Regions from separate parts of the Homo sapiens genome. Here all the other regions are linked to region 1. Evidence: promoter capture Hi-C in human tissues and cell types (Jung and others, 2019). All regions are on one chromosome and are shown on one strand. Each heading gives the region's core, a stretch centred on a gene start or on the middle of the fragment in contact. The rest is flanking DNA. Distances are from core to core; before and after follow the strand shown. Region 1 holds the start of INSM1 (INSM transcriptional repressor 1). Region 2 overlaps RALGAPA2 (Ral GTPase activating protein catalytic subunit alpha 2). Region 3 overlaps CFAP61 (cilia and flagella associated protein 61). Region 4 overlaps RALGAPA2 (Ral GTPase activating protein catalytic subunit alpha 2). Region 5 overlaps RALGAPA2 (Ral GTPase activating protein catalytic subunit alpha 2).

Region 1 (2,819 bases), core at 219-2,718:
AGGATGGAGGCAGGCGGCCCAGTCTGGGTCCAAACGGAACGGCAGCGGAGGTGGGGGTGGGGGTGGGGGCGGGGGGAATCTTCGCTGTTGTCTCTTCCTGGTGGCACAGGGGAGGCGGCTTGTCCTCTCGGAGGCCTCAGCCTGCCTCAGAGTACAGATTGCCCCCCCTCCCCCCGTCCAGCACGCGTCTCTTTTGCGTCCAGATTGGCCGCGACCGGAGCTCAATAGCAGGAGGTTAATTTCCTTCACAAAGGTGAAGGGGGCACGGCTCCGTGGGGGCTGCGCCCAGACAGGCAGCCCCTTTATTTCGCAGCGCCTTGATTGGAGCCCTTGATTTAGCATCTGATGTCAACCGGCAAACAAAATGCCCGCTCGGAATGAAAATGCATGAGGCCGCGCGGGGAGGAGAAAGCCAACTTCACTGGGGCGCACGAGGCCGACCGCGCGTTTCGGGCTTCGGCCAACTCGACCCGGATTAACCGAGCCTTGGACCACGCGGAAGCTCCGGGCGGCCTGGGTCGGGCCCCGCCAAAGATGCCATTCCCAAGCCTCCAAGAACCCAAAAGTTCAGAAATTCACGTTCCTCTGGGAACCCAGCCCAGCCCGCCCGCGCTCCAATCCCGCGCTTTCGGGAGACTGAGAAGGCCGTGCCAATTCCTTCTCAAACTCGAAAGAAACCTTCTCTAGCCCCGTGGGCGCGCGGAGGCTGCGAGCACAAACATCGCCCTCGGCCACTGCCAGAAGGCCGGGCCCCCTGTCCACACTTGGAACCCCGGGGAACCCTTTTGCTTGGCCTCTTGGGTCCAGCGGCCCATCCGTCCAAGGTCCGGGCGGAGGCCGTCCGGACCCTGCTGCTCTCTCGGATTCTTGTTTATTTCCCAAACACCACGCGGAGCCACTGCGCCTCCGCAACGATCTCCCCCGCACCGCCCCGGCGCGCCCCCGCCCCCACCCAATCAGCGCGCACAACTTCCCCCTCGGCTCCGGCTCGCGGATTGAACCCTCCTGACATATTTGGGGCCATTCTTCTCCTTTGTTGCTATTTTGCTAGCGACCCGCGGGTAATCCCCGCGCGGGAGGGGGGCGTGCATTGTCGCGCTGATGGACGGGCCCATTTGGCGGCTCCGCGCCCCCCGGAGGAGAGACACAAAGCCCAGGCACGTGCGCCTCCCCATAGAGAAGCAGCAGACCGTGAAGGGAGGCGGGGCCGGGCGTGTGCCTGGACCGGGCGGGGCGGCGGCGCCGGGCGGGGCGACCAGGGGCGCGCGCGGGGGCCCCGCGCCCTCAGGTACATCTGCCGCACCTACCGGGCGACCCCCGAGTCCCGGCCCCCTTTTGGCCGCCCCATCGCCCTCCCACCCTGCCAGGCTGAGGAGCTGCGGACGCGCTGATTGGCTCCAGGGGAAGCGGGAGGCGAGAACAATGGCCCCCTCCCCCCGTTAAAAGGGAGCGGCTGCCGGGCCCGGGGACAGGGACGCGCGTGCAGGGCGCAGAGCTGGGCCGAGCCGTCGCCGGCGCCACGCGAGTCCCGCAGCCGCCGCGCCCGGGCAATGGGCCGGGGGCACTGAGGGCCGCCGGGGCCGAGCGCGGAGGGGGGACCGAGCCAGTGCCGTGCCCTCGGGCCGCGCCAACATGCCCCGCGGCTTCCTGGTGAAGCGCAGCAAGAAGTCCACGCCCGTTTCCTACCGGGTCCGCGGCGGCGAGGACGGCGACCGCGCACTGCTGCTCTCGCCCAGCTGCGGGGGCGCCCGCGCCGAGCCCCCGGCGCCGAGCCCGGTCCCCGGGCCGCTGCCGCCGCCGCCGCCCGCGGAGCGCGCCCATGCAGCGCTCGCCGCCGCGCTTGCCTGCGCGCCTGGGCCGCAGCCACCCCCGCAGGGCCCGCGGGCCGCGCACTTCGGCAACCCCGAGGCTGCGCACCCCGCGCCGCTCTACAGTCCCACGCGGCCCGTGAGCCGCGAGCACGAGAAGCACAAGTACTTCGAACGCAGCTTCAACCTGGGCTCGCCGGTCTCGGCCGAGTCCTTCCCCACGCCCGCCGCGCTGCTCGGAGGGGGCGGCGGCGGCGGCGCGAGCGGAGCTGGCGGAGGCGGCACCTGCGGCGGCGACCCGCTGCTCTTCGCGCCCGCCGAGCTCAAGATGGGCACGGCGTTCTCGGCTGGCGCCGAGGCGGCCCGCGGCCCGGGCCCCGGCCCCCCACTGCCCCCTGCCGCCGCCCTGCGGCCCCCGGGAAAGCGGCCCCCGCCCCCTACCGCCGCGGAGCCGCCCGCCAAGGCAGTCAAGGCCCCGGGCGCCAAGAAGCCCAAGGCCATCCGCAAGCTGCACTTCGAGGACGAGGTGACCACGTCGCCCGTGCTGGGGCTCAAGATCAAGGAGGGCCCGGTGGAGGCGCCGCGGGGCCGCGCGGGGGGCGCGGCGCGGCCGCTGGGCGAGTTCATCTGCCAGCTGTGCAAGGAGGAGTACGCCGACCCGTTCGCGCTGGCGCAGCACAAATGCTCGCGCATCGTGCGTGTGGAGTACCGCTGTCCCGAGTGCGCCAAGGTCTTCAGCTGCCCGGCCAACCTGGCCTCGCACCGCCGCTGGCACAAACCGCGGCCCGCGCCCGCCGCCGCCCGCGCGCCGGAGCCAGAAGCAGCAGCCAGGGCTGAGGCGCGGGAGGCACCCGGCGGCGGCAGCGACCGGGACACGCCGAGCCCCGGCGGCGTGTCCGAGTCGGGCTCCGAGGACGGGCTCTACGAGTGCCATCACTGCGCCAAGAAGTTCCGCCGCCAGGCCTACCTACGCAAGCACCTGCTGGCGCACCACCAGGCGCTGCAGGCCAA
Region 2 (2,819 bases), core at 144-2,643, 240 kb after region 1:
TTTATGTAGAATGTAGCATTTTTCCAGAGCCCTTTCACACTGTTCACTTTCAGTAATGCTTCATAAACTCTAAGGTCCTCATAAATATTAGCAACATCACAGTAGGCTGCCATGCTCAGGACTCTCTGGCACATCTGTTCCCCAGGCAGCTCACCAGGTATCAGCCTGCTCTTGGTCTTCACCTGCTCACCACATGAGATGCAAGAAGCACAGGCATCTCTTTGGCTCTCTGCTCGCACCAAAGACCGGCCCAGCCCTCCACCATATCCGGGACCTCACTTATCCTCTGTCTCCCCAAGACCATCTTGTCCTCCCTCACTGGACCATCCCATTGGTGAGCAAACATACTTTAGTACCACCCACCTTAAACCTCGCCCACCATGTATGCCACCGACTTCAGCTAGCTCCCCTTTTCCTCTTCCTTTCCACAGCAAGAACTCTGCAAAGCCTTAACTACACTTGCAACTTCCACTGCCCAGCTCTCATTTTCTCCTCCATCTACTCCAGGTGGGACTCATCCCATAGAACATTCTCAACCAACTACATCTGTCAAAGCCCATGGTCAACTGGCTGCTCTCCTCCTACCCAATACTCATCCCCAGGCACCCAGGATACACACTCCTCTGGTTTTCCTCCTCACTCACTGGCCACCCTTTCTCAGCATCTCTCCCATCACCTGTGGACATTGTCCTCTCTAGGTAAGCCCATCCTGTGGCTTTAAATACAATTGCCCAACACACTGATGGCTCTCAAAGTTTTATCCCATTCCCATACTTTCGTTCATCCTTTACCTCTCCAAATCTACCTAGCCTTCCACCAAGGCCATCAGAGCTTCCTAATTCCTACCACCCTTGAGCAAATTAAAAGAGGAAGTAGGTAGCAGAGAGGGAGAAAAGCCTAAAAGCCCAGCACTAATTGTAAAGAACAGATCATAACCTTCAGGACAAAGCTAAGAAGAAAAATTTCTAGAAATTTAAATTTAATATTATTTTTAAAATTCTCAATGATTAAAACTAGTTTGCTACAAAATCTGATTCATTTCTTGCATTTGCAGTGCTTTCATAAAAAAGACTTACCCTAAATAGTAACCCTGCCAAGCTCTGGGCAAACAAGTCCTTTATTTGTTTATCCTTTGGCTTCTGCATGACAGCTTCTGTTATCCTGAGTAGTATTTGCAACATCTGTTCCCTGGGCCACCCAAAATAAAAGCTCATATTAATAATCATGTCTCCAAAGCACTTTAATTTATAGGTACCAGAAATTCTCTTAAGAATTCAGCAACATTGATAATTATGTATTACTCGAAACTATTAAAGTCCAGATGCCAATTACATAATGAATACCATATTTTACCAAAATAAGCTCCCTTATGTTATAACAGTTTTAAAAACATGCCTCCCATGTCCACACAAACAGGCAGGATAAAACATCATTCCAGCCTGATTTTCTCCCCTTGCAAAAAGAGAGGCAAGATCGTCTTCTCCAACTGTGCCAGCAGCTTAAAGGTACTCAGTGAAAACCTACTGGAACATATGCAGCACTCTTTAATTTTGCTATCCACTGTTTTACTTAACCTGTAAGGTCTCCCTCTCATTGCAACAGGAGGTGAAGCTGACTTTCTGGCCTTTATTTTGGGGACACACACAGTCAGTATCTTGGTAAGGTGGAATGCCACAGTACTCTCACAGGCAGGAGGGGTTTGCATTACAGGACACTTACAGGCACAGTGCTCATGTCTGGAAGATCCTGACTCTGCACTACAGGGCACAACTGAGACAAATGCCATCACTGCAGCTCAGTTCCAATGTGCCAGCATTTTTCATAGTCTCTTACAGAAGGTTTATGTAAAAGGACTTTGAAGACTATAAAATAGTACAGAGACAACATAACACTGCTAATTACAATAATAAGTTCTTCAGAACAGCCAAAAGACATTTTTCTTTCTTACACCTAAGTTATATTGCTCATATCAGAGTATCTGCTCACTTTTTCTTTCCCTAGATTCTATGGGAACACAGAACACATCATCTTTCATATGTAAGAGAAGTGCATTTGTTCCTCGAGGGAAATCACTCTGGTTCCTTTCAGGTTTCACATGCTAACCATTCATCTAATCTTTACTACTTTCTCCTTGGCTTTACTGCTCTTTAGTAATAAAACTGAGAATAGGACAAAGTAATCAGATGAGATCTCTAAATCATAGTTCCCGTTTACTTTTCTCATATCTCTGCTTATCAAAACAGCATTTTCTCCTAACAATATATGATGCTGAACCTCATAAAATTCCTCACAGTAAAATCACCTGTGGGGATTTCCTGCCCTCTTTGTAGCTGGCCCCATTTGATTTTGGTCCCCAGAGTCATCTGTTGTTATACATTCTCACTGCACTGCATGCTACTTGTCCATGTATTCCTATTCCCTGCCTACGGATTCTGGAAGCACAGAAGAGGAAGGGCTATCTTCTGGGCACACACGCTGAAGCAGGATGGTGACTTTGAAGAGAACTGGGAGAAGCAATGGCACAGTGCTGGGGGACAGCTTGTCGCTCATCACATTCAGGGTACCCAGGCCCCTGTCGCCAGGGCAGAGAAGGGCAGCACCTAGTATCACCACTGCCCATTCATGTTACATGATGCATAAGACAATGAAAAACAATCCCTTACACACAACTAGTTACAGATCCATCATGAGAATGTGATGAGAACAACAGACATCGTAAGTTTCAAGTAAAGCCTTGATCATGGCAACTGCTATCAAAAGCCACAAATGTGATCAAAGCCATGACTGACAAAAACAGTTAATTTGATTTCTGAACCTAT
Region 3 (2,819 bases), core at 124-2,623, 160 kb before region 1:
ATCACAGGATTATTTATCGAGACCATAATCCCCATGGAATGGGCCTCGGTATTAAAAAGTTAAAATGCTAAATTATATTATTAAAATTATTTTTCTCTTTTTAACATTTTAGACAGTTTTAATGTTTTAGAGTGATTATCTGACACAAGTTGAGCCAAGTAGAATATTTTTAGGAGGAATCTCAGTATAGCCCTCAAGACATTGTTTTCTTAGTAGAGCAATAGCATTGCAGTAGCAAACTGTGCAAGGCTGAGCAACTGTCATTACCAAATGAATGAATTTTCCCTTTAGGTTTCACATCTCCCACCGCCCCCCCGCCACAACCCCTCCCAGTGCATCAAGCTTTATATGAGACCCTCAGCTCCCTCACCATGTCCATATCATTTCTCTTGCTGGCCACTCGTCTTTCATACCTTTTATCCTATTTAAAGCATCTTAGAGTGACCATCCAGTCCCTACCTTTCACCTAGGAAGCCAATCTTCAAGGGAACAGATCACTCCAGGCATGAGTAATGGGATAGAAAGCATTTCATCTCGGTAGGTTGCCAATTTGAATCTGGCACAAGGAAGCAGTGATTGAAATTCATCACTGCATGGCAGGGAAATATGCCCTCGCTCCCACCCCAAGGCCTTCCTAATTCCTGCCTGGTTTGGACGATCAGTGTCCCGGCCACAACACCTTCCCCGTCGTTTCTATTAATTGACAGCCTACCCCGCAGCAGGTCATAAAAAAGAGCCTAGAAAACATAAATGATTTTCATCACACATTTCAGAATCAGGCCTCAAAGATTCATAGTAATGTCTCCACAGTCAACCAGTGTGAATGCATGGGTAAGAGAGAGGGCTTTTTCCTGACCAAGACCGTAATTGACATCATAGACCTGAAAGATTCTTTTCTGAGCTTGAATGAGCCATCTTGGCCTGTGCTTTTACATTAGGAGAGTTACTCTCATGGAAGTTTTTATTAGATGACTCGTCAGGGCCTGCCTGCATAAGAATTATTATTTTTTACAAAATTATTTTATTTCTTTAATTTTTAGTTTTTGTTGGTACACAGTAGGTATCGATGTTTATAGGGTACATGAGATATTTTGATACAGGCATGCAATGAGTAATAATCACATCATGTAAAATGGGGTATCCATCCATCCCCTCAAGTATTTATCCTGAATGAGTATTATGATCAGGAAAACACTCAAAATTGGGCTGAATTAATTTAGTGGTTATATTGATTAAAGACAGCCGAACAAGCTGCCTTACACTTATTTTGAGGGTGGGTCTACATACAAACCTGTTTTCTTTCCTTTCTGCCTTTTATAGGGATTCAGATATGACTGTGTCACCATCCATGCCTGCATGGAGCTTCCAGTCTAGTTTCAGTATTAAATGGGGGTAGATGAGGGCTTGTACTGGCCTCCTAGGTGACACGAGCCCAAACTCAGGAGAAATAGCCACACTGGGCTCAGACCTGTTTCTGCAGAATTCCTGGAGAGGGAATGTGTTTGAGAAAAAGGCACTGCTTCCTTTCCAGGAATGGGAGTTTACACAACTGTTATTTGTCATATTACACTCCAGAAAACCTGCTTTGAACTTAAAGAGCCCCTCCCATTGCCTCAATGTCAATAGTTGCTCCCCATCATCCACTTCAGTCACTTCAGCTCTTCATCTTGGTTTATTGTGTTCATAGAATTGTAGCGTGAACTCACCTCTCTCTCAGTTATTTTCAGAACTAAATCAACCCTTCATCCTTCCTGAGCAATCATACTTTCAGAGTGATCTTGTTTTTTTCTGGTTGCTTATTAATGATGGTCTGATTAAATCTCAACTAATGAATTCTTTGGAGGCCTCCATTTGGATTCTGTGCATTCATTTCTCCACATTTTTTCTTTGTCCTTCTACAAAGAAAAATGACGGCTTATGGAGCCCCTCCCCCTCAGAGCTAAGTGATGGCCCTGCTTTTTCCTGGTATGTGATCTCTCAGGAAGATGTCACTCACTGGCATTCAGTTACCCTTTGAATTGCCCCTTTTCATCTGGCTGTTCTTCCCAGTCCAGCTATAATTACCATCTGATGGACTGTTACTGGATACTGTTTCACTTGTGCATCTGCTGCCCTAGGAAATTGCATTATTCTCCCAGCACCTGCTAGATTTTCCCCAGCTTTATTGTTTCCCAGCCCCTTCCTTAAACTTGGTAACTTTCACCGCCAGTGGTTAGACTTCCCTTGGTTATATTTGTGGTCGGGGTATGTGGTGTGTTTTTAGCTCTTTGGCCATCACCTTGGTAGAGGTTTCTAAAAAGGCAGACCTGTATTTTTTCAGCATCATATATGCTCTAATCATTATTAATGTGACGATGGGAGGCATATTTTCTTGAAATGAAATTAACCCACTTTAAATCATCGCCATGAGTCCAGTTTGCTGCTTCAAGCCACTTCCCAGCCAGTTCCTATGTGTTTACACTATCTATGAGAAGTGCATTTCCTTCTACTTATAGTGAACTCTTTTCTCTCAGATTCTTGGGATCATTTACATAAGTTCCTTTATGGGCTTTCTTCTTTCTACAATACAAGTTCTGTGGCCATTTCTTTCCAATTCTCTGAACATTGTCTAGTTTAATATAATATGTTATATATTATATAAGTGTCTATTATATGAATAGTATATAAATATTCACCAGAAGGACTTATAAACCAGTGTTTATTCTCATTACTGTCCTAATTTTTCGCTCTTAGAAAGGTTACAAGGTAATAAAAACAACTACTGTTGCATTACTGTTACTTCCTGAGCTCTTGCTTAAAGAATTCCCATGGAGTTTCTC
Region 4 (2,819 bases), core at 207-2,706, 150 kb after region 1:
TGAAAAAAAATACCCTCAAATTTGAGCTCTTTCTTGCTTAACCTAAAATACCCACGCTATCACCTTTATTTTTCCTTTTCACTTTCTATATGATGTATCCGCTTGGCAAGGACGTGCACACCAATATGTTTTTAAGCATCTTGCCTATTTGCTTAGTTAATATGTCAGTGAATTTTAAAAACTCCTTTGTCAGAGAAGTTTAAGCAATTATTTTTAGTACTTTAGAACTATCTTGGGAATGTTTCCCAAAGAGTATTGTACACTGAAAGAAAAATGGTGCCAGAATTTAAATGTATATTTTTAGGTTTTTCCTTTTTCAATAACCTATTTATCTTCTGCTATTTTTAAGTGACAACTCATAATAAATGGTGAACCTATTTTAGGGATAGCCATGTTTTGGGGATATACTCATGTGGATGAGTATAAATTGATGACTTTAGGAAAAAACAAGTTAATTTTATTATAAGACATATGAACTTACAGTAGGGAACAACGAAATAGATTAAGAGTTGTTTCAATTACTTAATAAAAATAATTTATCATTGTGGGGGAAAAAGTAAAGCAGACATTGCAGTTGACAGTGGAGCTCCAGAAATAAACAATTAAATGATTAAATAAATGGAGAACAAATCAAGAAAACAACATGAAAATGAACCATGTACCATCCACCACCAACACAACTCAAAACAAGAGTGTTAAGTCTACTCCACGTCAAAACTTTCAGAGTAAATAATGCATTTTAGGAACTTGGTCATTAAATCTTAGGTTCAAATTCCACCTCCCTTACTTCTGACTTGTACACACCCCTGGGAATATCCCTTAACCTCAGTTTGCTCATCTACAAAATGCAGCTAAAATCAGGACTGCTAGATTTTAAGCCCTTGCTCATGACTGTCACCCCCAGTCCTGTCTTTTTCATCCTCATCTCACCTTCCCCTTCATGTCAGCTTGAACCTTGCTCCAGACTCTGTAGTGCTGCAAGCATACCCCTGGACCTTTGTCCTCCCTCACCCAGCCACTGCCTGCTGTGTCCTTCCTCCTTCCACTAAGGGCCTCACAAAAGGAGTCTGACTCAGGGATCTGACTGTCACTGCACAGGTCACCTGCTCATGTTATCTGGCTGGACCCACCACTCTGGTGAAAGTGCTCTGGCAAAACCTACCACCAAACACCTAGTTGGGAAATATAACAGCTCCTGTTTCATTCTCACCTTCCCTAAGCTTTCTGAAGCAACTAGCACTGCTGACCTTTCTCAACTTCTTATTTGCTTTCTTCCTTGACTTGCTAGAAATGACTCTTTCTTGGTCCTCTTTCCACTTCCCTGACTTTGCTTTCCTGGTGACATTCCCTCACTCTGCTGTCCTTAAGGATGTTTCTGCCCACAAGGTTCTAGTCTTGGGCCTAGGTTTTTAACTTGTGAAGTCCATACAATTTTCATGGATGATCTAACACTTCACACCTACATCTCTTTAATTTTTTTTTTTTTAAGATAGAGTCTCACTCTGTCGCTCAAGCTAGAGTGCAGTGGCGCTGATCACAGCAGCCTTGACCTCACAGACTCAAGTGGTCCTGTGCTCAAGTGATCTGCTCGCCTTGGCCTCCCAAAGTGACGGGATTACAGGTGGGAGCCATGATGCTTGGCCTTCTTCTAATTTTTAGTGTTGAGACAACTGAAGATTCACATGCAGTTGTAAGCAGTAATACAGAGAGACCTCAAATACCTTTCATCTCAGGGTAACATCTTGCATACCTATAGGACAATATCACAGTCAGGAAGTTGACATTGATAATAATCCATCTATATTACTCAGTGTTCACCAGTTTTACATGCATGCATTTGTGTGTGTGTGTGTGTTTGGTTCTATGCAATTTTATCATATGTATAGACAGTATACCCACATTCTACTCCCATTCCAAGGCCCAAAGCTGGGCTCTTATCATTCTGGGGAGAGGGGTGCTTAAGTAAGAAATACAGCAGGCTCTAAGTCCTGACAATCCCTATATGCTCTGAAATGGACTCTCTGCTATGAGCAGAGCAAATCTAAAACTGTAGCAAGTAAATTTCCATCTCTTTTTATGATGCTCTCCTAACTTGGAACAATCTATGAGCTCCTTTCAACACCTGCCCACCCTGCTAAGTCTGGCTTAAGTCCTTCTTCATGGAAAGCCCTCATGGTGCTACCAGTCCACAGTGAGTCCTTCTGGACTTCACTGTGTGTTTTCCATTAGATGTAAAGCTCCTTGAGGATAGAAAATGAGCCTTTTTTGTGAGTTCCATGGATTTGAGACATACCTGTCTTCAATAATACAAAAACCATTTGAACTACTAAAATGGGAAAACAGAGGAGAAAAAAAGAAGAAACAAGGAAGGCAGAATTTGCCATCACAGAGGACTCCAGGAACTAGGATTTCAACTTCAACAACTAGATTAAAAAAAAATAGAGCAAGCATGGCTAAAGGCTAAATCCTTCCTTTTCCTTCCCACAAGATTTCATACCTGAAAGAATACTCACCCTCTTCAACAGTCAGCAGGTTACCCAATTCTGCTGATGAATGATACTGGACTGGCTCAGAGCTCTTCACATTTGCCAGTGGCAGGAAGGGGTCATAATCCGTGGATGACAAGTCAGCCAGGGTCAGTATGTAGTGACTCTGTTGGGTGTACGTGCTTGAGCCACACACACAGCAGTGCAAAACCTGTGAAAACAGAGGCCATGTGCACCACGGATGCTACTCACCGCGTGTCCCCTGACAATCTGTCAAACTACTGCAGCACTTGGCAGCTAGGACTCCTGCTTGGTCCTAGCTGGAAATGGAAT
Region 5 (2,819 bases), core at 102-2,601, 130 kb after region 1:
AACCCATCAGTGAGTTCGGTGAGTGCACACAAGTCAAGTTGATCTGGTTCCTGTGTAACTGGGGAAGAATGATGAGTCTCCTTCTGGAATGGAGCCGGTGTTTATGTTAGCTACTCCTTCAACTGCACAACAGGCTCCACAATGGCTGGATACTTATCAGGCTCAGAACAAATGCTCAGATTTTAAGTCTTAAGAAATCAATCCCGGACCCACAACTTTTCATCCTAACAGAGTTTTAAAGTCCCTTTGCCTAAGCCATTCTGTCTGTTGCTGCTGCCAGGCTGCACGCCACTGGTGACACCGGTCATGGTACACACCTAATAGGCTGACCTCCTTTCTCGACTAATTGCATTACATCGCCAGCTGGCTCCAGAAGGAGTCGTCTGTTTGATTGAAGAATTCCTGCTCCTCAGTGGGCCCGGCTGCTACTTTTACTAAGTAACAGTCAGGCCTGACATCCCCATTGTTCAGCTGACAGTGTGCCCATCCTAAAATCTAAGTTTTATTTGTAAATTAACCAAGAAACTTCCTGCCAGAACAGCGCTGCCTGGAGACTGATAATGTGGGCCTTTCATCCCTTTTCACTCGTACTGTATCACTGCCAATTTGTTTTTTATGTGGCTGGCCAGCCTGAGGCTATAAAAGCCTTGTAAGACATAAGTGCAATTATAGTCCTGGAGTCAAATGAATTGGACAAATCCAATAGCACAGCTCTGTCCCCACTCTGCAAACCCCTACAGCAGTTAGATTAGCTGTGAAAAATCTAATCTAGCTAGAGCTAACAAATTTCTGCAGTGAAGGATCAAGAGTTCAGTATGGGGTTGCAACTGGATTGCAGAATTGAAAAAGTCCCCCCATGATGGGGGCAGAAGAGAGCATGAATCACTTTAGAATTTTGCAGCTCATTTTTAAGCTGTTAGGGACAATTTAGTTAGAATAAGACAAGGAACTGTGGGCTGCTGTTACTGTGACTGATTTTTAGTCTAGCTGTGAGACATCTGATAAAGAGAGTTTATCACTAATGATGCTAAACCTTACAGCTGCAAAAGGTATCAGCTGAATTTTGATTATTACAGTAGGGAATCATTCAACCAGGCCAAGTCTTAGAACATTATTTACAGCTTGGCATTTTATCAAGAAAACATGTCTTTTCTCAAAAAAGAAAAAACAGTCCTACTTTACTTAAGAAATAATTTAAAAAATATTTTATATATAAATTTTATCTTTTAACAAAATAATTCTCAGTCATAAGAAAATTATAGAATATGGTGACACATTTGCAAAGCAGAAACAATTTACAATGTACTGCAAATAAAAAAGATGTGTGAGCCCAGCTTAGGATCCTGGTAAGCTACACTAGAGTCTGAGATCCTGGTGAATTCTTGGAGGGCAGAGTTCCCTTTGCTGAGAGCTCTACAGCCAGGGGCAGCCATCAAAACCCAACACTGAGGCAGCTCCTCCAAGACGTGTGGGAACCAGCACGTGGTCAGCGCTTCTGGCTGTAGTACTGCCACCCCCAGGAGGTCATTATAGCATGCTGGGGCAGGAGAGGGAAAGGCTGCTGAGTTTTTGAACGCAAATTGTACTTTCTACATCTGAGACACTTGATCACTACGGAAGTTGTCTGTAATTGGGCCATGACTTGAGTTCTGATGTTTCACATGCACTGCTGCCCATCATATACAGGCACACCTCAGAGATATTATAGGCTTGGTTTCAGACATATCCGCAATAGGTTTTTTAGATATTGCAAATACAGATATTGCAATAAAGCAAATCATATAAACTTTTGTGTGCACTGGGAAAGCAGTGTGCATAAAACTTATGTTTACTATAGTCTATTAAATGTGCAATAGCATTATTTCTTACCATATGTATATTAATAAAAAAATTTTATTGCTAAAAAATGCTAATGATTATCTGAGCCTTCAGTGAGTTGTAGTCTTTTTTTGCTGGTACAGGGTTTTGCCTTGATGTTGTTGGTTGCTGATTGATCAGGGTGGCAGTTGCTGAAGGCTGGGGTGGCTGTGGCAATTTCTTAAGGTAAGATAATGAAATTGCCACATTGATTGACTCTTCCTTTCATGAAAGATTTCTCTGTAGCATGTGATGGTGTCTGACAGCATTTTGCCCACAGTAGAACTTCTTTTGAAATTGGAGTAATATTTTCAAACCCTGTCACTGCTTTACCAATTAAATTTATGGAATATTCTAAATCTTTTGTTGTAATTTCAACAATGTTCATAGCATCATCACTGAGAACAGATTCCTTCTCAAGAAACCCACTTTCTTTGCTTATCCATAAGAAGCAACTTTTCATCCAGTCAAATTTTATCATGACATTGCAGTAATTCAGCTACATCTTCAGTCTCCACTTCTAATTCTAGTTCTCTTGCTATTTCTGCTAAATGTGCAGTGACTTCCTTCACTGAAGTCTTGAATCTTTTAAAGTCATCCATGAGGGTGGGACTCTATCCAAACTCCTGTGAATCTTGATATCTTGATCTGTTCCCATGAATCACGAATGTTCCTAATGGCATCTAGAATGGTGAATCCATTCCAGAAGGTTTTCAATGGTCTTTGCCAGATCCATCAGAGAACTCACTCCCTATGACAGCCATAGCCTTATGAAAGTTCTTAAATAGTAAGACTTGAAAGTTGAAATTACTCCTTGATCTGTGGGTTGCAGAATATGGATATTGTGTTAGCAGGAATGAAAAACAACACTACATCTCCTTCAGAGCTCTTGAGTGATGAGGTACATTGTCAATGAGCAGTAATACTCTGAAATAAATCTTTTATTCTGAGTAGCAGGTCTC

Evidence for each region. The method cuts DNA at HindIII sites, captures the fragments that hold promoters and counts their contacts. A contact is called where the count stands out against the background at its distance.
Region 2: a contact is called between a fragment that was not itself captured here and the fragment with the promoter of INSM1 in region 1, in 2 of the 25 tissues and cell types used here (IMR-90 fibroblasts and mesenchymal stem cells).
Region 3: a contact is called between a fragment that was not itself captured here and the fragment with the promoter of INSM1 in region 1, in 2 of the 25 tissues and cell types used here (mesendoderm cells and thymus).
Region 4: a fragment that was not itself captured here is called in contact with the fragment with the promoter of INSM1 in region 1 in 3 of the 25 tissues and cell types used here (dorsolateral prefrontal cortex, hippocampus and lymphoblastoid cells).
Region 5: a fragment that was not itself captured here is called in contact with the fragment with the promoter of INSM1 in region 1 in 1 of the 25 tissues and cell types used here (hippocampus).

What each region holds. Positions count from the first base shown.
Region 1 is chr20:20,366,636-20,369,454 of GRCh38, forward strand. It overlaps INSM1 (INSM transcriptional repressor 1), which reads left to right and starts at 1,469. Exons shown (of 1, transcript NM_002196.3): 1 at 1,469-2,819. The coding sequence starts at 1,633. RefSeq lists an enhancer at 562-1,332. The HindIII fragment of the contact is 4,823 bases long and covers 1-2,819 here.
Region 2 is chr20:20,610,239-20,613,057 of GRCh38, forward strand. It overlaps RALGAPA2 (Ral GTPase activating protein catalytic subunit alpha 2), which reads right to left. Exons shown (of 40, transcript NM_020343.4): 14 at 1,077-1,188. Among named protein-coding and RNA genes, the nearest start is that of RALGAPA2, 100 kb to the right of the region's middle. The HindIII fragment of the contact is 6,280 bases long and covers 1-2,819 here.
Region 3 is chr20:20,202,448-20,205,266 of GRCh38, forward strand. The region is part of intron 17 of CFAP61 (cilia and flagella associated protein 61); the gene reads left to right. Among named protein-coding and RNA genes, the nearest start is that of CFAP61-AS1, 64 kb to the right of the region's middle. The HindIII fragment of the contact is 6,572 bases long and covers 1-2,819 here.
Region 4 is chr20:20,518,404-20,521,222 of GRCh38, forward strand. RALGAPA2 (Ral GTPase activating protein catalytic subunit alpha 2) reads right to left here. Exons shown (of 40, transcript NM_020343.4): 31 at 2,514-2,697. Among named protein-coding and RNA genes, the nearest start is that of INSM1, 150 kb to the left of the region's middle. The HindIII fragment of the contact is 6,197 bases long and covers 1-2,819 here.
Region 5 is chr20:20,498,169-20,500,987 of GRCh38, forward strand. All of the region lies in intron 35 of RALGAPA2 (Ral GTPase activating protein catalytic subunit alpha 2), which reads right to left. Among named protein-coding and RNA genes, the nearest start is that of INSM1, 130 kb to the left of the region's middle. The HindIII fragment of the contact is 3,606 bases long and covers 1-2,819 here.